Linked DNA regions of Homo sapiens: all the other regions are linked to region 1. Evidence: promoter capture Hi-C in 16 types of primary human blood cells and fetal thymus (Javierre and others, 2016). All regions are on one chromosome and are shown on one strand. Each heading gives the region's core, a stretch centred on a gene start or on the middle of the fragment in contact. The rest is flanking DNA. Distances are from core to core; before and after follow the strand shown.

Region 1 (3,783 bases), core at 543-3,042:
TTTTCCAGCATAAATAGCAAGAACAATCTTTCCTGATAGTGCAACTTTTTTGCCTAAAGGTTTTGGAGTTCTTCAAAGCCATCGTGGCATCAAAGACTACTGGAACGAACACACACACACACACACACACACACACACACACACACACACCATCATGGCATCAAAGACTACCTAAAAACAGCCCCCCTCCCCAGCCATCATGGAATCAGACTACTTCAACACGCGCGCGCACACACATACACACCCATGACATCAAAGACTACTTAAACACGCACACGCACGTACACACACCCCAAGCTATCGTGGCATCAAAGACTACTTCACGCGCGCGTGCACACACACACACACACCATGGCATCAAAGACTACTTACACACACGCCCCCTAGACAGGTTTTTCTTTTTCTTTTTTGAGACGGAGTCTCGCTTTGTCGCCCAGGCTGGAGTGCAATGGCGCGATCTCGGCTCACTGCAACCTCCGCCTCCGGGTTCAAGCGATTCTCCTACCTCAGCCTCCTGAGTAGCTGGGGATTACAGGCGCGCGCCACCACGTCCAGCTAATTTTTTGTATTTTTAGTAAGAGACGGGGTTTCGCCATGTTGGCCAGGCTGGTCTCGTACTACTGACCTCAGGTGATCCGCCCGCCTTGGCCTCCCAAAGTGCTGGGATTACAGGCGTGAGCCACCAGGCCCGGCCTCTAGACAGGTCTTTCAAAAGTTTCAATTATTAACCTTCTTAGAAAGGTCATTAACCTAACGGGCAAAGCAAGACTCAGGTTTTGACGAATCAAGACTGATTTGCTTGTATTTTGCAATAGCTATTGATTATAAATAATACTTCCAGGCACCTTTCCACCCCTTGGCCATTTCTCGTTCTCCTCTACTTTGCTCCTTCTCCCCATCCCCGAGGCAGTAAAGTTCGGGGAGGCCCGGGAGCGCCTGGGCCACGTGTGCGCCCGCGCGGCTGCCTAGAGGCGCTGCTGCAGGGAGGCGGGACAGAGTTTCGCGGCTCGCACGTGGCCGCGAGCTCACGGCCTGGGGGTCAGGGAGACCGTGAAGGGCCCGGATCCCTGTTACTCACCCTCAGCTGTCGCCATTATCCTAAGTGGGCTGAGGGCTGCGACCGCGCCGGGAAGCGAGGCAGAACTCTAGAAAAGAGGGGTGGTCAGAGAGCTTCGCTGGGCGGGGAAGGAGGCGGGGCCGCGCGACCCTGCGCCACTCTTTTCGAGCTCCGCTACAGCCGCCTAACCCGGAGGGGTATGGGCGGAGACTGAAACGCGGATATCGGACGAAACAACGCCCCACTGGCTTCCCGCCGCGCAGGCGCAGAGACGCGACCCCGCCTCCGGGCCGCCCCGCGCTGGCGCAGTGCCCGGACAGGCGAAAAGTGGCGCGCACTGGCGGCCCCTCCCCACTCTGCGGAAGCTCGCATACCCCGGCCCCTTCTCGGCTGCGGGAGCGACTCAGAAGTTGGAGCGTACCAAGTCTTGACGGCCTGGGGGAAGCATGCAGGGAAGGGCATATGAAGGCTAAATGCTCTGAAAGAGAAATGAGGTTAAGTCCGTTACTCCCATTACGCTACTGTTGGGTGCTGGAAAATAACGGAGATTTCCACGTGCAGCAAATACAGCTTTCCAGGCAGCTCTTAGGGGAAGGCTAGCTCCACCCTACAGCATCCGTGACCCCGCCCCTCAGCCGCGGGACCGCCCCTCCGCCCTCGCTCGTTGGTGGACTCGGAGGGGGAGGAGCAGGGCTGAGCTGGCCACGCCACCTAGGGACAGCGCGCGCCGCCGCAGTAGCTGGGGCCACCCTCGGGAAGGAAGAGCCTGTCGCGAGCGCGAGCTTCTGAGCTCGACGGGCCGAGCTGGCAGCTGGTTGGTGCTTACACCTTGGCCGCAGCGGCAGGTCCTTCCACGTGCTTTCGGCGGCGACATGGAGCTGGAGGAGTTGGGGATCCGAGAGGAATGTGGCGTGTTCGGGTGCATCGCCTCAGGAGAGTGGCCCACGCAGCTGGATGTACCGCATGTGATCACTCTGGGACTCGTGGGGCTGCAGCACCGGTGAGCAACAGGGTGGGGGTGGCGGGGGCGTGCGTCTCCATCTCTCGGAGCCGCTTCCCGCAGTCGGCGTTCTCATGAGCGCCCGAGGGCCCGGGAGGACCGACCTCTCCGACCTAAGCCAGTACCTGCCTGTGGCGTCGACCGGGTTGCCTAGGCGTGCACGAGGGGCACCTCGCTTCCATGAACTTTAGCCTGTCCTGCCCACCCTCCCAGCCACTTATGCCTTTTAGGGGCTCTCTCCCTCCCCGCCCCCCGGTGTGTGCACCCATCCAGAGGCTGGCCAGCTTGTAAACCGCCGGTTTGCTTGGTCTAGCTGGGTCAGGGCTCCTCCCCGACTGCAGGCGGGTTCTAGTCTCCCGGAGCCTGTGGCTGCTCCTGTAATAGGCTAGTGTGGCGTGGCGGCCAGTCCAGGTCCTTCAACACCTAAAGGTTTTCGCGCGGGGCCTCCAACCACCACAAGCTTTTGTTTGCAAGGGCAGAGCTATTGAGCAGATTATGGGTTTGAAAGTAGTTATCGCTATGGGAACTTGAGGATGCTAGACTTCAGACCCAGGGAAAGATGACTAGTTGATGTTGAGAATGACTACTGGTAGTAGATCTCACATAAATTAAATGGAAATAAGCCAACCATAGGGAACAGTGCATCTGGAAAAGATTCATTGGTAGACGTCTTGCCTAATGAATGAAAACGTTGGTAATAACATGACAAAAATTAACTCCCTTCTTCAAAAGGGGGACAGGGGAGTAGTGTCTCTATGCCAAGATCCATACACTTGATTTTGAAAAATTGGGAGATCCTTTCGAGTTAAAAAAAATTACTTTGCTTCGGTGATCTTTCCTTTTCTTACTACCTGACTTAACTGGAAGTTGATATAAATTATTACACTAGGATAAGAAAAACAAACCTGGGTTTGATATTCTTACTGAAAGTATTACAGTTTCCATAAGGCAATACAGTGGTAACAACTTACACTACAGTTAAGGAACTTGGCAATAACACGTAACAGCAAAATGGGTGCAACACGTATAAACGCATTCCAAAAGATTAGCTTTTCCTCCACCAAACTTAAATTAGAAGTATTTTTTGCTGTTTTCATTGTCCCAGGTACTTCAATTTCAGTTTCACATTTTGTGTGTTCCTTGTTTACTAAAGAGCTGAGAATGTGGGAAGCATCAAAAAGAATATTTTTAACTTGCGTAGCTCCAATCTTGGATAATTGTGGGTTGACCATAATAGATTTCTTGTTTTTTTTAAAAAAAGTTTATTGAGAAAATTAGTTACGTAATCCAAGGAGAAAGTAAACTCTTGATTATGTGGTAGTTGTGAGCAACATTAGTTTGTAACATTCTTAGAAACTATGGCCAGGCGCGGTGGCTCACGCCTGTAATCCCAGCACTTTGGGAGGCCGAGGCGGGCGGATCACGAGGTTAAGAGATCGAGACCATCCTGGCCAACATGGTGAAACCCCATCTCTGCTAAAAATACAATTAGCTGGGTGTGGTGATGCGCTCCTGTAGTCCTAGCTACTCCGGAGGCTGAGGCAGGAGAATCGCTTGAACCCGGGAGGCTTAGGTTCCAGAGAGCAGAGATCACGCCACTGCACTCCAGCCTGGGCGACAGAGCGAGACTCCGTCTCAAAAAAAAAAAAACAGTTGTTATTTTGGATACTCTGTCATGGGGGTGAGGGAGAATCTAGAGGTCTTTAGGGTTGCCTGGTGGTCTGTA
Region 2 (3,783 bases), core at 510-3,009, 590 kb after region 1:
ATTGGCGGAAGAACACACAAGCGGCTGGACGTGCATAGAAGCGTGCCAGGGGAAGAGCACACAACAGATGCAGGCAGGCCATCAACAGGCAGGCCATCCACCGGCAGAATGATGCAGATTTTAGCCCCAGGTGGTCAGGGGAGATCTGGGCTGCTGAGCAGCCCGACTCCAGGGAAAAACCACCTTCCCACTCCATCTGCCTTCTGGCTTCTCCATCTGCTGAGAGCTACTTCCACTCAATAAAATCTTGCACTCATTCTCCAAGCCCTCACGTGGGATCCGATTCTTCCGGTTACACCAAGGCAAGAAACCTCAGGACACAGAAAGCCCTCTCCTTGCAATTAGGCAGGAGGTCTAATTGAGCTAGCTAACACAAGCCATCCGGATGACTAAACTAAAAGAGCACCCTGTAACAAACGCTGAGCAGGGCTTCAGGAGCTGTAAACGTTCACCCCTATACGCTGCCGTGGAGTCCGAGCCCCACAACCTGCCCTTCTGCATGCTCCCCCTAGAGGTTTGAGCAGTGGGGCACTGAAGAAGTGAGTGACACCCCCATCGCATGCCCTGCGATGGGGATAAGGGAATTTTCCTGTTTCGGAATCACACAGACCAGGGGTTCAAATCTGGTCTTTACCCTTTACTGAGTCAGTGACCACAGGGCAAGTTACTTAACTCTTCAGAGCCTCAATTTTCTCATCTGTATATAAAAAATAGTAATCCCATCTTGGGCATATTTGCTAAGATGTTTCTTGTAAAGCACTTGTCTCATTGCTTGGCACACAGTATAAGCATTCAATAAATGGTAGCTGTTATTACATGCAGATTGGTTTAGTAGATTAAATTGGGCAGATTTACCTACTTGAAAAACATGTAATAGTCACCCAAGGAGGTTCTGCCCAAGGAGGTTCTGAGGTCCCGCTTCCTTTACATAGAAAGAAGGCTGTATATATTAACATGTATCACATATGAGGGAATCTCATACTTACATAGCATGAAATAACTTTTCCATTGTTAGTAAGCTCCAAGGGAAAAGTCTCTTCTAAATGGTGAAGAGTAGTAAATATTGATGATTTATAGAAGTTAATTGTTTCCTCAGAGAAATCGCTCTTGTTACTGTGCACCAGTAAAGCAGAGGCCTGAAGATTGTAAAGACTTCATGTTCTTCTCAAGACCTGAATCCATTTTGCACCTTTTGAAGGGGGAGGGAGACCATCCTTTTCCTCAGCTTGAACCCCTGAAGGAGGAAGGGCAAAAGTGCCCCACTCCCTCTAGGGCTGTCTCTGATGACATCGGTGGTAGCTCCACTGGCTTTGAGGACATTGTTTAGTGAGAAAACTCATAGATTTCATGGAAGTGGACTTTCATATTTCATATTTGGATGCCTCTTTTACTGGCATCCAAACTGTCTTTTGATATCAGTCTGATTAATTTTAATTTGGGTATAAAGCTAAGGGATCTTCAAATGTTTAAAATGTTCAAATGTTTAAAATCATGTAGATTTATATAATTTCAATTTGAAATGTGACATTTTAAACATTTGACATTTATTATGACACTTACTTTGATTTTTCTCTTCCCTATTTCTTAGCATTGTTTTCTTATAATTTAATGATGCATGTTCCTGTCTAAGAAAGGAAGAACTTTTTTTCAGAGATGTAAGACTATTAGTATCAACACAAAGAACACCAAGTAACTCTTTGTGGGGGTGGGGGGTGGACAATGAGAGTTACAATGCTGCACTTCCCAGATTCTTTATTTTCTTTTTCGTTCTGTTTTTTCTGGAGACAGTCTTGCTCTGTCACCCAGGCTGGAGTGCAATGGCGTTAGCTCACTGCAACCTCTGCCTCCCAGGTTCAAGCGATTCTTCTGCCTCAACCTCCTAAGTAGCTGGGACTACAAGCACATGCCACCATGCCTGGGTGATCTTTTGTATTTTTAGTAGAGATGGGGTTTAGTAGAGATGGGGTTTTGCCATGTTGCCCAGGCTGGTCTCAAACTCCTGGGCTCAAGTGATCTGCCCACCTAGGCCCAGATTCTTTATTTTCTAAATATCTTTAACAACTGCAGCAAGGAAGAAATGTCTCTACTGTTAAATACATAAAGCAATTGGTGTTTGTTTTAGGTTTTGTTAGAAATAGATGTAAATATCCCCACGTGATACTTTCCATTTCTTTGTAGCTTTATGGGAGGAAGTCAGGGAGTCACTAAATAAGGATGGTAATTACCTGTATCAATATTAATTAAGTAAATATTATAAATAAATATTAGTTAGATAGTAGATGCACATTTGACATCATTATTGGAAAGTAATATAATGTGACATACAAATAAATATAAGGAAGGCAAAGATTGGCTTGCAGAATCACATTGCGTCTCAATGCTTTTCTTATGCAGCTGCCTTATTTAATATACATATTGTAGAGTGATATTACAATAAAGGGCAGTCATTACAAATGCACAGTGCTGAACTCCGTATACACATTCTAGGAGATTCTCTCAGAAGTGCAGAAATCATCTCTTTTTTTTTAATTTTTTTATTTTTTATTATTATTATACTTTAAGTTTTAGGGTACATGTGCACATTGTGCAGGTTAGTTACATATGTATACATGTGCCATGCTGGTGTGCTGCACCCACTAACTAGTCATTTAACTTTAGGTATATCTCCTAATGCTCTCCCTCCCCCCTCCCCCCACCCCACAACAGTCCCCAGAGTGTGATGTTCCCCTTCCTGTGTCCATGTGTTCTCATTGTTCAATTCCCATCTATGAGTGAGAACATGCGGTGTTTGGTTTTTTGTCCTTGAGATAGTTTACTCAGAATGATGATTTCCAATTTCATCCATGTCCCTACAAAGGACATGAACTCATCATTTTGTATGGCTGCATAGTATTCCATGGTGTATATGTGCCACATTTTCTTAATCCAGTCTATCATTGTTGGACATTTGGGTTGGTTCCAAGTCTTTGCTATTGGGAATAGTGCCGCAATAAACATACGTGTGCATGTGTCTTTATAGCAGCATGATTTATAGTCCTTTGGGTATATACCCAGTAATGGGATGGCTGGGTCAAATGGTATTTCTAGTTCTAGATCCCTGAGGAATCGCCACACTGACTTCCACAATGGTTGAACTAGTTTACAGTCCCACCAACAGTGTAAAAGTGTTCCTATTTCTCCACATCCTCTCCAGCACCTGTTGTTTCCTGACTTTTTAATGATTGCCATTCTAACTGGTGTGAGATGGTATCTCATTGTGGTTTTGATTTGCATTTCTCTGATGGCCAGTGATGGTGAGCATTTTTTCATGTGTTTTTTGGCTGCATAAATGTCTTCTTTTGAGAGGTGTCTGTTCATGTCCTTCGCCCACTTTTTGATGGGGTTGTTTGTTTTTTTCTTGTAAATTTGTTTGAGTTCATTGTAGATTCTGGATATTAGCCCTTTGTCAGATGAGTAGGTCGTGAAAATTTTCTCCCATTTTGTAGGTTGCCTGTTCACTCTGATGGTAGTTTCTTTTGCTGTGCAGAAGCTCTTTAGTTTAATTAGATCCCATTTGTCAATTTTGGCTTTTGTTGCCATTGCTTTTGGTGTTTTAGACATGAAGTCCTTGCCCATGCCTATGTCCTGAATGGTAATGCCTAGGGTTTCTTCTAGGGTTTTTATGGTTTTAGGTCTAACGTTTAAGTCTTTAATCCATCTTGAATTAATTTTTCTATATGGTGTAAGGAAGGGATCCAGTTTCAGCTTTCTACATATGGCTAGCCAGTCTTCCCAGCACCATTT
Region 3 (3,783 bases), core at 627-3,126, 570 kb before region 1:
TAAAAATACAAAAAATTAGCCAGGCGTGGTGGCGGGCGCCTGTAGTCCCAGCTACTCGGGAGGCTGAGGCAGGAGAATGGTGTAAACCCAGAAGGCAGAGCTTGCAGTGAGCGGAGATTGCCACTGTACTCCAGCCTGGGCAAGACAGCAAGACTCTGTCTCAAAAAAAAAAAAAAAACCAATTCCTTGAACTGAATTTGCAATGTGGCATTTGTCATAACACAGCACAGGGCATAGTGAGCTACACATGAATGAATCTGTTTCCTCTGCTAGATGCTGATGAGCTCCCTGAGGGCTGAGATCAGCATCTCATTCATGTGTGTGAACTCAGTATCACAAATATCAAATATACCCAATAAATCCTTACTGAATTACAAGGAATTTAAATATTAACTTTGCTATCAGTAGCCCCTCAAAATTTCTTACAGCATCCAGATTTCTAGGAAAAAGGAGCTTGAAATTGGTGTCCGAATGCCAAATCAATCAGGTGATACTGGTATAGGCCAGTTTAAACAAGGAAAGGAGGGGGAGATCCCCCTAAAAATGGCATAAAGTACATTACAGGTTTTCAATCATCTATGAAAAGCAAATACAAAAAATTAAAATGCCCAGTGATACACTCTTTAAAAAGCTTTTCTCCATTACTCCATCTGAGAATAGCTACTGCAGTCATTATATATGCAACAGACCAACATATAGAAACCAGTGTCAGAAGTACTGTATTTTCCAACAAAGGAGGGCGATGACCATTTTTATCTCTTAGTTGGCTTCTAATGTGGAGCTTTTAAGACATAAAAATTTCACTAACATGGACTGTCTCACCCACTAAGCAGCTACTCTAATTTTTTAATTACTTTGAGTTTCTAAACTGCAAGCCAAAAATCTATCTTAGTAATACTAATAGCTAATTTAAGAAAATTTCATGTTCATAATTCAAAAGTCCCCAGTAAGTTTTTTTTTTTGTTTTTTGAGACGGAGTCTCACTCTTTTTGCCCAGGCTGGAGTGCAGTGGCATGATCTCAGCTCACTGCAACCTCCACCTCCCAGGTACAAGCGATTCTCCTGCCTCAGCCTCCCAAGTAGAGTAGCTGGGATTACAGACACCCACCACCATGCCCAGCTAATTTTTGTATCTTTAATAGAGATGGGGTTTCGCCATGTTGGCCAGGTTGGTCTCAAACTCCTGACCTCAGGTGATCCAGCCCACCTCGGCCTCCCAAAGTGCTGGGATTACAGGTGTGAGCCACCACACCCGGCACCCAGTAGTTTTACCTTTGACCAAGAAAGAAAAGCAAAATAATTTATATTCAACAAACAAAAGAATCTACTAGTCCTATAAACATGTTTCCTATTGAGCCTGTAGTCATAGTTGGCACACTTACCTGAGATACTCCAGCTCTGGCTTGATGAGCTTTCTTTTGATCACCCCAGTTTCCAGTAGCTAAAGAGTATTTTAGGCCATCAGATATGATCCGTGTTTTAATTGCCAACTCCAAGTTAAAATCCTTTCCTCGATCAATAAATTTCTGTGCATAGATCCGCACTTCTTTAAGCAAATTCTTAAACATACTGCCGAATAAAATGGTATTATTTTAAACATGTAGAGGTCTACAACATATATTCTCAACAGGAGGAATATTGCAAAAAAAAGCGTGGGGAAGGTGAGCAAAAATTGTTTGGGCAGAGTGAAAGTTGTTGCTCTTTTATGTCTAAAGCACAGATATATGTATAGTACGTGAACATACATGGCAGGGGAGCAACTACACAAAAATGTCAAAGAGGTGGGGCATGGTGGCTCACATCTGTAATCCCAGCACTTTGGGAAGCTGATGTGGGCAGATCACCTGAGGTCAGGAGTTTGAGACCAGCCTGGCCAATATGGAGAAACACCGTCTCTACTAAAAACAGAAAAATTAGCTGGGTGTGATGGCACACGCCTGTAGTCCCAGCTACTTGGGAGGCTGAGATAGGAGAACCGCTTGAACCCTGGAGGCAGAGGTTGCAGTGAGCCGAGATGGCACCATTGCACTCCAGCCTGGGCAACAAGAGTGAAATTCCATCTCAATAAACAAAAATGTTAAAAGAGGCTCCTTAGTGGGGCAATATCAAAAAAAGGTTGAAAAACACTAATCTATAACATACTAAATAACAAAACACGTGCAAGACAATGCTAATGTTATCCTTTTTGTACTGTCTACATATTTCATTTTTAAAAATAACTTTTTTCCAATTATAGAAAATATGGGAAATATACAAACATCAAGAATAAAATTAAAAACTGCACATAATACCAATACTGTGAGACAATCACTGACAGTATTTTTATATATTTATCTCCAGCTTTTGTATATATGTGTACAAAGCAGGACAAAATCCAATATTAGCCCTTAGGAAAACCAAGGCAATAATTCAGCTTTCTCAAACATCTTACAAAGCTACCAGAGGAATAAAGAAAATATATAAACACGTAATATATTGTCCTCATAAACCTGGCTTTCCTAGACATGAACCAAAACTAAATCTGAGCAAATAGCAATAAGAATGTAGCTAATTTCATAAGTACCCAACGTGGATGCCAACACAGTTTAGCCTGGCCATATGCAATGATCAATCTAAAGTGAAATAAATCTCCCTGCTTTAATGACTTCATTCTGTAATTCCTTACCCTCTAAATAAGAATGCAAGCAGCGGCCCAGCAAGATCCAATCTCTTGTTTCCATAGTGATCTCTGTCATCTAGTTCTCTTCTACCCAAAGCTGCCAGAAGTAACCTATGAACCATGTATCTTTAAAAAAAAAAAAAGAAAGAAAGAAAGAGGGAAAACACTTAGTTTTGGACTTTTTTTTGATTTATATGTTAAAAACATCATTTTTGACTCTAAGAAAAACCTTTATCTCAACTGTATCTTGATAAAGAACTTAAAACAATGAAACTTAACATACCCCAAGAAATAGGCTTTTTTGGTCTCACAAAAATCACTGACACCAACATGAGGGAGCATTTCTTTTTGTAAAACTTCCTTTGCATATTTAATTCTTTTCTCTTTAGTAACACCAGGCTTTGCTCCTCTTGAACCAATGAAATTTAGTGCAACATTCTGTTCTTGGATGACAAAAGCTTCATCGAGAGAAGGTTTAACCTATCAGACAATTTAAATAAAAGTTATTTTCAAATTCATGTTGCTACCTTAAAATGAGTAAACTGTCACTTAGTTTATAACATGCCAAGTACCCCTATGAACATAATAAAATATGTGAGTATTTTTAGAAAATCAAGGAATCACAAACTCTTAGAAGATACCTCAGAGATCTAGCGATCTCTGACAAAAACCACTCATCAGCACAGGCAATTACCTTTCTAGAAAGATACAAATAATTCCATTATAAAAAGAGTAGTGCATGGCCAGGAGCAGTGGCTCATGCCTGTAATCCCAGCACTTTAAGAGGCTGAGGTAGGTGGATAGCTTAAGTCCAGGAGTTTGCAACTAGTCTAGGCAACATGGCGAAACCCCCATCTCTACTAAAAATACAAAAATCAGCTGCCGCAGTGGCACATGCCTGTAGTCCCAGCGACTTGGGAGGCTAAAGTGAGAGAATCGCTTGAACCCGGGAGGCAGAGGATGCAGTGAGCCAAGATGGTGCCATTGCACTCCAGCCTGGGTGACAGAGTGAGACACCGTCTCAAAAGGAAAAAGAGTGGTGCGTTTCTTTTTTACATTTTACCAATGGAAAAATAAAGTTCCAGATATCTAAAATCAATTTACAGAAATTTCATAGTCAAATT
Region 4 (3,783 bases), core at 835-3,334, 570 kb after region 1:
AGTTTGGACTTACTTTATAAATAAAAATATCTAAGTAGTATATGCAATTCATATGCATAGTTATTTGATTTCTAGAATCAGAGAGCATCAGCTGAAAGGAACTAGACTGTCTACCAAAAGAGGCAGCTGAGGCCCAAAGTACATCTATGAGCAAAGAGGCTCCTATTTCAAAATCTTAAAATCAAATATGTGAAGGAATTGACTGCAACCCCAATTAAACATATTAACATTTTTGTGGAAATGTAAGGTTAATACATAAATAAGCTATAGGAACATGCTCGTTTTAATAATAAAATAAAATTACCTGTTGAACAAAAACATTGTTGAGGTGACTGGCCAGTCTCCGGGCAAAAAGCTCTCGCAAATCACTGAATCGCTGCTGTTGCTGTTTGACTGCCAGAAGCAAGTCATGGCCTGACACAGAACGACATTTTGTGACCAGTTTAATGGGTAAAAAGATTTCCTTGATGTTTAATGGAACATTAAACGTATCTAACGTTTTGAAGAACCCAAAAGTTTTATGGGTGTATTCATTTACATGATAAAAGTTAAGCAGGAGAAAAATGGGATTTCACAGTAGTTCTCAAAGTGTGGTCTTGCCTCACCATCGCCTGGGAACTGTTAGAAATGTGGATTCTAAAATCTCAGCCCAGATCTGCTGAATCTGGGACTGGGGCCAGGCAATCTATGTTTTTAACAAGACCTCTAGGGATTCTGACGGACACTCAAGTTTTGAAATAATTGCTCTCGTCTAACCAAAGCACCTACTTTCTGCTGGGTTCTGTGGATAGTACTAAATAAAGATCATGGTGTTGACTATAGTCATTGAGGACAATTAGAAGGAGGAACTGAAGTAAAAAAGTTCCTAGTATCAATAGAAATAAGTTGGGAAATCAGTGAAACTTGAATAGCTAATAATGTAACCCTTAAACCACTTGTCTCATGTATTTCTTGTCAAAACCTTTATAACAAGTTACAGGCTTAGTCTCACATTCTTGGTCACATTTTTGTCATTTCTAATGAACATACCTGGTCGAAGAGCTACATTCATGCACTGCAGAAGGGCATCAGCAGCATTGGTGCAGGCCTCAATGCCTCTGGAAGAAGCAAGATCTCCTTCCTGAAGGGCCTTTATATGACCTTTGGCCAAGTCCATGTGGTTCTAGAATATATGCAAACACACCATTTGCATGTGTAATTTTGGGAAATTTACAGGCAAGATGCTATTCAGTCCTATCATTAGGTCTTTGGAATTATTTTAAATCCTGTTCTCACAAGGAAATTAAAAAATGTTTACAAATGGGTTTTATATATCATCACTAGTTTTTTTTTGTTGGTAATTTATGATCATACTTACCACAAGGAACTCTATCTCAGATAGGAGTTTTACATTATTAGTGTTACTAAGATGAATTAGGTGGTTGCTTTCAGAGATCTGATCCATTTGTTCTTTTACACTTTGGAGCATTTCCTCATAACTGCTCAGTTTCAATTCAATCTGATCTACCTCCTTTAGAGCCTCATCTAGCAATTTCATCAGGATGTTGACTTGTTTTTCAGATGCCATGATTGACTGGATGTTAGCCTACAAAGTTAAAGACCAAAACAAACAAACAAACAAACAAACAAACAAAAAACATACTTGTTATTTAGATGTGTAAAAGAATAAAGGTGAAATGTTGCTAAATTTCCTTGAAAGTAGCATAACAAAAATTGATATATACCTACACATCTACTTCAGTTTATCACTTTATGTTCTTCCATGTTTTACACAGTATTTCATGCAGGTACACTTGCCTCTAAATCAATGTTAGGGACCATGCCTTAGGATTTTATATTTCCACAGACTGCACAAGTAAGGTTCCAGAATGCACAAGTAAGGTGCCAGAAAGTATCACTGGTAATGGCACATTCTCATTTCTATACATTTAGGAGGCATTAGGCCATGTTATCTCTAACATTTCCTCCAATTCTACCAGCTAGAAATTTTCTTAACACCTATGTGAAACCCTAAATAAAAGCATAATCACCTATGTGATATCTTAGTTGAGAAAGCAGCAGTGGTATACCAGACTCTGAAGGATATATGAAACTAATTTATAACTGTAGTATGATGGGAACTAGTAACAGGATGTAGAAGAGCATACGGCCGATAGCTCCTTCTATCATCTTTTTTCTTTTCTCTTTCAACTGTTTTTTTTTTCTTCCCCAGGCAAAGCAGTAACAAACCACCATCCCCTTATCACTATTTTCTAAATGATTCTGACTATTGATTCTGAATTCCCTGAAATAAGGAAACTGCCAAATCCAAAATTAAACTGCAAAGCAATATGCTGACTTGGAACATATATACCATATTAATTAGAACAAAAAATATAAATCACTAAGCCATATTAAGAAGGCAAGTAACATGGTACGATGAAAAACCTGGACCAGAAATTTAAAGGATATCATTGTACAGCTGACGCTGTGGTTTCACACGTTATTTACATACTATCCACAGTAAATAAAATGTAAGTGCAATACGACTTTAAGAGTCAGAAGGGTTCAGAAGCCACTGACATCTCTTAAGTAACAGAGCTGGGGTTTGAATCTGCCCAGGATTTCTTCCTTAACATCTTAAAATCATTTCTAGGCTTTGCTTTCAGTGAACTCTGTAAACTTGTAAGCCTGGACTATTCATATAATCTCTCTGGGCCTGAGTCAGACCCCATAACTTCTGTACCTTTCATGTATACAACACTAAAATTTAAGTCTTTAAAATGTTCCTTATCCTCTGAGGGATTTCTTAAATGCTTACCTTTTCTTAAAACCAGAACAAACCCAAATGATTTTAGATTACTCTAGCATAAGAGATGCGGTGTGTTTGATTTTTTTGTTTTGTTCTGTTTTGTTTTGAGACAGAGTGTCACTCTGTCACCCAAGCTGGAGTGCAGTGGCACGATCTCAGTTCACGGCAACCTCTGTCTTCCAGGTTCAAGCGATTCTTGTGCCTCAGCCTCCCAAGTAGCTGGGACCACAGGAGCATGCCACCATGTCTGGCTAATTTTTTTTTTTTTAGTAGAGATGTGGTTTTGCCATGTTGGCCAGGCTCGTCTCGAATTCCTGACCTCAGGTGATCTGCTCGCCTCAGTCTCCGAAAGTGTTGAGATTACAGGTGTAAGCCACTGCCCCAGCAGGTGCTGTGCATTTGAATTACACTCAAAAACTGCACACAAAACAAAAAGGTCTATTCTAAAACATTTTAGCAAAGAAGTCACAGATCTTTTTCTCTGGCTCTCCTGTTTTCACCACACTCACTCCACTCTTCTTTGGTAAATGATTCACATATTTCAGCCACATTTCTCTCTTTATACTTCATCCCTATTTTTATTTTTTTCAAACCACACACATACACACAAATGCTATTCTTTGGCACTGAACTATTCAGACATGTTTCAGAGGCTGAGCGAATCAACTCCCAAGATGTTCTCTGGCCTAGTTTTTACTCCAGTCACTTCATATCAAGAACCTCCCCAAATCCAGAATCTCAGCCAACTGTCTTCATTGGCTTAACAGGAATAGTTCATCTTTTGAACAAGAACAGTAAAAGACTGATGGCAGCTGGTAATGTGCTTATAGATAAAGATGGCAATAACACACTATAAAGGCTTAAGTGCTGAGGTAGTATAATATGAACATCATTAGCCTTCTCAATCCACTATACATCACTTATTCATAGAATTCAGGAAAGTCTTACCCCATCTAGCACCTGCAGCTCTCTGGACAATTTTTCTGCAAAGG
Region 5 (3,783 bases), core at 627-3,126, 550 kb before region 1:
TTACTAGTAATGAAACAAACATGCCTCCTGATATGATGCACTGAGACTATGTCACTTCTGCCAAAAGTAATCATCTGAATCTAATTATGAGAAATATCAGACAAACCTAAACGGAAAGGCATCCTAAAAAGTAACTGGCCCGTATTCTTCAAAAATGTCAAGGTAAAAAAAAGAACAGACACACTGAGGAACTGTTCCAGATTAAAGGAAACAAAAGAACATGCCATGACAAGTAAATGCAATATGTGATCCTAGGTTGGATCCAGGATCAGAAAAATTTGTATTTTGCTATAAACACCAGTGGGACAACTGGCAAAATGTGGGTAAGGTCTATAGATTAAATAAGATCACCATAATTGTGATTATGTAAAAGAATGTTCTTATGTCTGCAGTTATTCTTTTTTTTTTTTGGAAACAGGGTCTCACTCTATCACCAAGACTGGAGTGCAGCGGTGCGACCTTCGCTCACTGTAACCTCAACCTCCCAGGGTCAAATGATCTGCAAGTTACTCTCACATGTTTCAGAAAAAAATATATATATACAAAAAGAGAAAAAGACAAAGAAATGTAGTACAGGGTAACATTTTCGGAATCTGGTTAAAATGATTAAATGAATTCTTTGTGTAACTTTTAGATCTGAAATACTTAAAATGTTAAATATATAAATAAAATAACTACTCTCATGTAGCATATTTATATAGAAGAGCTATTTATCAAGAAGAATAAGCAGGAAATCTAAAGTGCCTTTTCAGGCTAATTCAGTTTGGTCCAAAGTTACCTGATTACAATCCAGCATGCTTCTTGCCACAAATCCGGGGTGATTTCATCATCATCCTCATCATATTGCATATCTGTAAAAACAAAAATATTGTACTCATTTGCAATGAGATGCCACTTAGTTAACATCTTGCTCCTATGACTTTAAGTAGCAGAAACATATTTACTTTCTGCTGAATAAGTAATGCTTTCACCCCACTTTTCTAAAATTTCAATTACATTAATAAAATAATTTATGTCTATGTCACACAGGTATTCTTCCAATATAAAAAGAGGTTTATTAGAAAGGTTCAATGTAAGTTGTATGAATGTTAAGTTTTCCATTTTATTGATCAGCAAGATTTTCAGACACTAGAGTCAGAGAACAGGGTAAGGGGGCAGAGCCATGGAAGGATTCCAACAACTGGGCAATACCCTAAGGTGGGGCAATCTATTATAGCAACATTTCATACATGTACAGGTATGAAAGTTTGCATTTTCCAAAGATGGCCACAAGCCTATCTCCCATCCGACATGGTCTTCTATAATGTGATCTTGACACTCCTATCATCACATATAGTGGTCTATGCACCCTCTCCTTGAATCGGGTAGATTTTGACTCTCCTGTAACTTAAGAGAATGCAGCTGAAGCAATGCTGCATGACTTCAGAAGCCAGGTCAGAAAAGGCAATGAAGTTTCTGTCATGTTTGCTAAAACACTTCCTTCTGGAGCCCTGAGCTGTCATTAAAAAGTAGGGGTGGCTCAGGCCTGTAATCCTAGCACTTTGGGAGGCCAAGGTCGGTGGATCACCTGAGGTCAGGAGTTCGAGACCAGCCAGGCCAATATGGCAAAACCCTGTCTCTACTAAAAAAGACAAAAATTAGCCAGGCAGGGTGGCACATGCCTGTAATCCCAGCTACTCAGGAGGCTGAGGCAAGAGAATTGCTTGAACCCAGGAGACAGAGGTTGCAGGGCCCGCCTCTCACTCACCGCCCGAAAGTCGGGGCCGCCCCACGGGGCGGCGGGGGGGAGTGCCATCCCCGCCTCGCCACAGCACCGAGCCCGCCGCCCGTCCCTCGCGGCTACCACCGGTCCCTCGCGGCTACCGGGCACGGAATGGGCGGTCCGCCTCCTCGCAGGAGCTGAGATCGCGCCACTGCACTCCAGCCTGGGCCACAGAGCGAGACTCTGTCTCAAAAATTTAAAAAAATAAAATAAAATTTTTTTTGTAAAGACATACACTATTCTGAGGCTGCTACATACTGAGAAAGCCCGAACCATAAGTAGAGGCCACTTACAGATGCTCCATTAGCAATTTTAGTCCTTGAGTCCTCCTAAGCTAATGTCTCATGTCAGACATAGTCAATACTACAGATCATCTCTCACCCAGCTGTCAACACTTGGCCTTAATGTCTTCCCAAATGAACCAGAGTCACGGTGGAACACAGGCAAGTCATGCCTGCTATGCCCTGTCCAAAATCCTAACCCACAGTATCCATGAACATAACAAAATAATTTTTTAAGTAGCTAAATTTTAGCGTAGTTATGCAACAGTAATTTAAATATGCATTCAAAAAAAAATCAGTGTGCACTGGTCCTCTAATATTAGTCCCATCTTCTTAAGGGAAAGAATAAGTGTGCTGTATTTTTGGCTTTTATTCTAATGTACACATATATAGCCTATGAAATTCAGGAGATCTGGGTTCAAAATTTGATACATATACAAAATAAATTTTTAATAAATACTTCTTAAATGGACTGGAATTATTAATCCCTACACCTGAGGGAAGGGTAAGAAAGACAAAGCTATGTATAATAGCTCAGACATTTCTAGCTTTGATGAGAGATTAAAAGTTAACATCACTGCCATACAGGAGAAGCAAGTAAGATGGTGGAAAAAGGAGAGGTAATGATGAGATCGGCTTTAGAGATATCTATAGATCACAATACCTTCAAATACTTCTAGTAGGCACACATATATGAATATAAACTCAAATGAAGAGTCTACATTATAGACAAAGAACATGTGACACATAATAGATATACATTGGCATATAACAAATGTGTATCTATTATGTGTCAATAAAATAAACGTTTTAAAATTTGAAAAAAAAAAAGTACATAGTTGGAATCATTAACAAATGGGTGGGAGAAAAATGAGATTATACACAGACAAGGAAGGCTGAAGGCAGGATATCTGGGAACAACTTTAAAAGTCATACAAAGGAAAATGAACTCATGAAGGAGACTCATTTACTCATCCATTTATCAGATTTTTTTTCAGGCTGGGCGCACTGGCTCACACCTATAATCCCAACACTTTAGGAGGCCGAGGCAGGCAGATCACTTGAGACCAGGAGTTCGAGACCAGCCTGGCCAACATGGAGAAAACCCATCTCTACTAAAAATACAAAAATTAGCCAGGCATGGTGGCACCTGCCTGTAGTCCCAGCTACTAGGAAGGCTGAGGCAGGAGAATCGCTTGAACCCAGAAGGTGGAGGTTGCAATGAGCCGAGATCACGCCACTGCACTCCAGCCTGGGTGAGAGTGCGACCCTGTCTAAAAAAAAAAAAAAAGTGATATGAATATTCCTGACAAAGATCTGAAAAGGTTAGGGAAGACTTCCCAAAAGCTGGGCAGAGGCCAGGTGCAGTGGCTCATGTCAGTAATCCCACCACTGGAAGGCCAAGGCAGCAGGATCACTTGAACCCAGGAGTTCGAGACCAGCCTGAGCCACAAAGCGAGACCCCCGTCTCTAAAATTTTCTTTAAAAAGCTGGCCGGGCGCAGTGGCTCACGCTTGTAATCCCAGCAGTTTGGGAACCCAAGGCAGGTGGATCACAAGGCCAAGAGTTTGAGAGCAGCCTGGCCAGCATGGTGAAACCCCGTCTCTACTAAAAATACAAAAATTAGAAGGGCATGGTGGCGCATCCCTGAAATCCCAGCTACTCAGGAGGCTGAGGCGAAGAATCACTTGAACCTGGGAGGCAGAGGTTGCAGTGAGCCGATATCACACCACTGCACTC
Region 6 (3,783 bases), core at 696-3,195, 520 kb before region 1:
CGGGAGGCTGAGGCAGGAGAATTGCACGAACCCAGGAGAAGGAAGTTGCAGTGAGCCGAGATCACACCACTGCACTCCAGCCTGGGCAACAAGAGCAAAACTTCATCCCAAAAAAACTAAATAAATAAAGATTTTTAAAAAGCTATGTATTTCTAGCAACTGAGGTCTATTCTGCAACTGAGAGGACACTTTAACCATTTTATTTACATTTCATCTTTATATGACTGAATAACATTACATCAATCAGAAGTCTTTATTGGCCAGGAGCAGTGGCTCATGCCTGTAATCCCAACATTTTGGGATGCCAAGGCAGGAGGATTGCTTGAGTTTAGGAGTTCAAGACCAGCCTGGGCAACACAGCAAGACCTCATCTCTACTAAAACCCAAAAAAATTAGCCAGGTGTGGCGCTGTGTGCCTGTAATCTCAGCTACTGGAGAGGCTGAGTCAGGAGGATCACTTGAGCCTGGGATATGGAGGCTGCAGTGAGCTATGATCACATTACTGCACTCCAGCCTGGGCAACAGAGCGAGACCCTGTCTGAAAAAAGGAAAAAAGAAAAAGTCTACACCTTTTGTTATTCCTAGCTGAGTAAGTAGTACCACAGCTGTGTCATGAAGAATTGGCAAGTCAAGTCCCAGATCCTAATGTTGAAATAAATGCTGGTAAGATAAGCTAGGCTGAAACGCAGTTAGAGCCATGAAATTCCTGAGAGGACCATGTTCTGTCCCAACATATGGGAGCCCCCATGTATTTCACACTCTCCTGTCTTCTCCCCACTCCTCAGTCCTCTTCTAAGTCCTCTTAGATTAAATATAATGGAGAATTTTTTAAGATGATGCAACTTGTTGTAGACCTTTCATAGTGTTTCAAAGTGAGTACTACTGGTATCTTGGGCAAGGTGGTTCTTTCTTTATATATAAAACTGCATTTCAGCCGGGCGCGGTGGCTCACGCCTGTAATCCCAGCACTTTGGAAGACCGAGGCGGGCGGATCATGAGATCAGGAGATTGAGACCATCCTGGCCAACAAGGTGAAACCCCGTCTCTACTAAAAATACAAAAATTAGCTGACTGCGCTGGCGCGTGCCTGTAGTCCCAGCTACTCCGGAGACTGGGGCAGGAAAATCCCTGGAACCTGGTAGGCGGAAGCTGCAGTGAGCCAAGATCGCGCCACTGCAGTCCAGCCTGGGCAACAGAGCAAGACTCCGTCTCAAAAAAAAACAAAAAAACTGCATTTCATTATGTCTGGTATCTCTCATCCCAGACACTAAATGCAGTAGCAACTCCCTCTGCTGTCAGTCCTGGTGACAACTGGAAAGTGCCCCCAACATCATATTACCTCTAGAGGGCGGCAGCTTCCCAAATGGAGAAAATTGATTGGCAGTTGATTTCTAGTTTTTATTTTGGAGGGAATGAAATACCATTTATTTTATAAGTTAAAATTGTGTCTGGGTGCGGTGGCTCACACCTGTAATCCAACACTTTGGGAGGCCAAGGTGGGTGGATCACCTGAGGTCGGGAGTTCGAGAGCAGCCTGACCAACATGGAGAAACCCCATCTCTACTAAAAAAAAAATACAAAATTAGCCAGGTGTGGTGGCACATGCCTGTAATCCCAGCTACTTGGGAGGCTGAGGCAGGAGAATCGCTTGAACCCGGGAGGCAGAGGTTGCGATGAGCTAAGACCGTGCCATTGCACTCCAGCCTGGGCACAAGAGCAAAACTCCATCTCAAAAAAAAAAAAAAAAATTATGGTCATTATATTTCTACCTATGGTTGAAAACAGGAGTTCACAGTTCAGAGCTTAGGCCAGGATATTTAGGTAGAATTAAAACAAAAAACAGGCAGGAAAGAAAGCCAGCAAAGGGTGAACTGGGCCTTTGTGGAGAAACAATCTAAAAACTGACTACTATCACCCTGACAACTTAAGAAAATGTATTTCAGAAAACAGGGCTCACACCCATAATCCAAACACTTTGGGAGGCCAAGGCAGGAGGATCCCTTGAAGCCAGGCATTCAAGACCAGCCCTGGCAACATAGTTAAGACCCTGTCTCTACAAAAAAAAAAATTTAATTTAGCTGGGCATGGTGACACCCACCTGTAGTCTCAGCTATTCAGGAGGCTGAGGTGGGAAGATCCCTTGAGCCTGGGAGGTTGAGGCTGCAGTAAGCCATGATTGCACCACTGCACTCCAGCCTGGGTGACAGAGCAAGACTCCATCTCAAAAAAAAAAAAAGCAGGAAAGAAAGCCAGCAAAAAGAGTGAGAAAGATGCTCTATGCCTAGAATTAGTTGAGGACTTCTACTGGGATCTGGTATTAATTTATTCCATATTGTGCCTCCAATTTAATGCAGCCTAGGATCACTGCTAGGATCAAGTGTTTCCTAGTAGATTTTCCTTTAAGAAAGTTCCATTACTGTATTGGTGCAGTAGTGCATTGCTTAGCAACAGGGATGTGTTCTAAGAAATGCATCGTTAGGCAATTTCATCTTTGGACAAACATCATAAAGTGTATTTACACAAACCTAGATGGTATAGCCTACTCTACACCTAGGCTGTATGGTATAGCCTATGGCTCCTAGGCTACAAACCTGTACAACATGTTGCTGTACTGAATTCTGTAGGCAATTGTAACACAAATCATTAGGCAATAGGTATTTTCTGACTCCATTATAATTTTACCAGACTACGGCTGTATATGTGGCCCATTGCTGACCAAGAAGTCATTATGCGATACATGACTGTACTTCTTTATCCATTAATCTGAATATAACGACATCTTTTGAATCAGTAGTCACTTACACTATGACAGGGTACAAGAATTAGTGGGCTCTTCTGGCCAGGAACGGGAGGAGAAATTAAGGGCAAAGTACCAACTCCTCACTTCCACAGATCACAGAGGTGGTTAGGGGTTGCTAGAAAACAATGAAGCAAGTTTATTCTAGATTGTTTACCTGGCTCTGCAGCACTGTGGTGTTGAGCATGTCACCTCTTTTGTATTCATGACACCCAAAAGAAGTAAAATAAATTCCATCAAAGTACTTTTTGACTTTTATGTGATATTAGGTTCAAAGTTTTATTTTAAAAAGTTACACGTAATCCCTCTGCTTTTCCCCCCTCTAATTAAACTAAAATAACAACATCTTCTTCAAAGTTACTAAGACAAATTAAAGTTGTAATATGTTTTGTATCTTTAATCACCATAAATGCCAAGCTGTGCCGATCACTAAGTCTTTACTGTATAGTTCCCCAGAGTCTAGTTTATTTAACTTGAGACACTCACTTCCCATAACAACCAAGGAGAAGCGGAGTAGAGATGCAATCTTGTGTGCCTGTGTCTCTAGTGTTCAGACTCTTCTTGCACAATGGACATAGGCTGGTTTCCTGCAGCTGACTAACATGGAGGAGCTCCAGCTGTGTCAGCCATGACAGAGTTGTTATTGCTTCACTGAGTAAGCACCCAGCGCGCAAGCTGAGGCGGGCTGTTTCATAGACGGGCTCGGATCATTTACCCTGGCTTCCCTCCCACTTGGCTCTGTGTCGTGGAGCATTAGAATCATTTCCATTCTTTCTCAGCTGTTCCATTTTCTTTTGGCCACTTTCCTCCTCCCAGGGGGATTGTTTTCTCTCAATTGTCAAAGAGTAATGCTTAAACATTAAAAACAAGATTTCAGACTCGTGAATCAAATCGATGACACCTCTGCCTGCTCTGAATGTCTCTCTGTCATATTATCTGCCCCCATTAAGACCTTGTCGTGAGAGGGGAATGGTTCAAGATAGGTT

What was found. The method cuts DNA at HindIII sites, captures the fragments that hold promoters and counts their contacts. A CHiCAGO score of 5 or more calls a contact.
Region 2: a fragment that was not itself captured here is called in contact with the fragment with the promoter of PPAT in region 1 in 1 of 17 cell types (non-activated CD4 T cells); the score reaches 5.3 in non-activated CD4 T cells.
Region 3: a fragment that was not itself captured here is called in contact with the fragment with the promoter of PPAT in region 1 in 5 of 17 cell types (naive CD4 T cells, naive CD8 T cells, fetal thymus and 2 more); the score reaches 7.5 in naive CD4 T cells.
Region 4: a fragment that was not itself captured here is called in contact with the fragment with the promoter of PPAT in region 1 in 1 of 17 cell types (neutrophils); the score reaches 6.7 in neutrophils.
Region 5: a fragment that was not itself captured here is called in contact with the fragment with the promoter of PPAT in region 1 in 2 of 17 cell types (non-activated CD4 T cells and total B cells); the score reaches 6.8 in non-activated CD4 T cells.
Region 6: a contact is called between a fragment that was not itself captured here and the fragment with the promoter of PPAT in region 1, in 6 of 17 cell types (total CD4 T cells, total B cells, monocytes and 3 more). The highest score is 7.2, in total CD4 T cells.

What each region holds. Positions count from the first base shown.
Region 1 is chr4:56,433,624-56,437,406 of GRCh38, reverse strand. It overlaps PPAT (phosphoribosyl pyrophosphate amidotransferase), which reads left to right and starts at 1,792. Exons shown (of 11, transcript NM_002703.5): 1 at 1,792-2,057. The coding sequence starts at 1,930. It overlaps PAICS (phosphoribosylaminoimidazole carboxylase and phosphoribosylaminoimidazolesuccinocarboxamide synthase), which reads right to left and starts at 1,147. Exons shown (of 9, transcript NM_001079524.2): 1 at 1,079-1,147. The coding sequence starts at 1,094. RefSeq lists enhancers at 177-1,060, 1,908-2,087 and silencers at 1,188-1,477, 1,618-1,817. The HindIII fragment of the contact is 7,763 bases long and covers 1-2,519 here.
Region 2 is chr4:55,846,649-55,850,431 of GRCh38, reverse strand. No RefSeq gene overlaps it. Among named protein-coding and RNA genes, the nearest start is that of EXOC1, 5.1 kb to the left of the region's middle. The HindIII fragment of the contact is 6,305 bases long and covers 1-3,783 here.
Region 3 is chr4:57,004,602-57,008,384 of GRCh38, reverse strand. POLR2B (RNA polymerase II subunit B) reads right to left here. Exons shown (of 25, transcript NM_000938.3): 8 at 2,943-3,139; 9 at 2,666-2,785; 10 at 1,383-1,569. Among named protein-coding and RNA genes, the nearest start is that of POLR2B, 28 kb to the right of the region's middle. The HindIII fragment of the contact is 2,486 bases long and covers 634-3,119 here.
Region 4 is chr4:55,868,480-55,872,262 of GRCh38, reverse strand. It overlaps EXOC1 (exocyst complex component 1), which reads right to left. Exons shown (of 19, transcript NM_001024924.2): 5 at 3,740-3,783; 6 at 1,358-1,585; 7 at 1,030-1,162; 8 at 305-414. Among named protein-coding and RNA genes, the nearest start is that of EXOC1, 17 kb to the right of the region's middle. The HindIII fragment of the contact is 5,306 bases long and covers 1-3,783 here.
Region 5 is chr4:56,983,422-56,987,204 of GRCh38, reverse strand. It overlaps POLR2B (RNA polymerase II subunit B), which reads right to left. Exons shown (of 25, transcript NM_000938.3): 2 at 779-851. Among named protein-coding and RNA genes, the nearest start is that of POLR2B, 6.4 kb to the right of the region's middle. The HindIII fragment of the contact is 5,960 bases long and covers 1-3,783 here.
Region 6 is chr4:56,957,981-56,961,763 of GRCh38, reverse strand. No RefSeq gene overlaps it. Among named protein-coding and RNA genes, the nearest start is that of NOA1, 18 kb to the left of the region's middle. The HindIII fragment of the contact is 9,798 bases long and covers 1-3,783 here.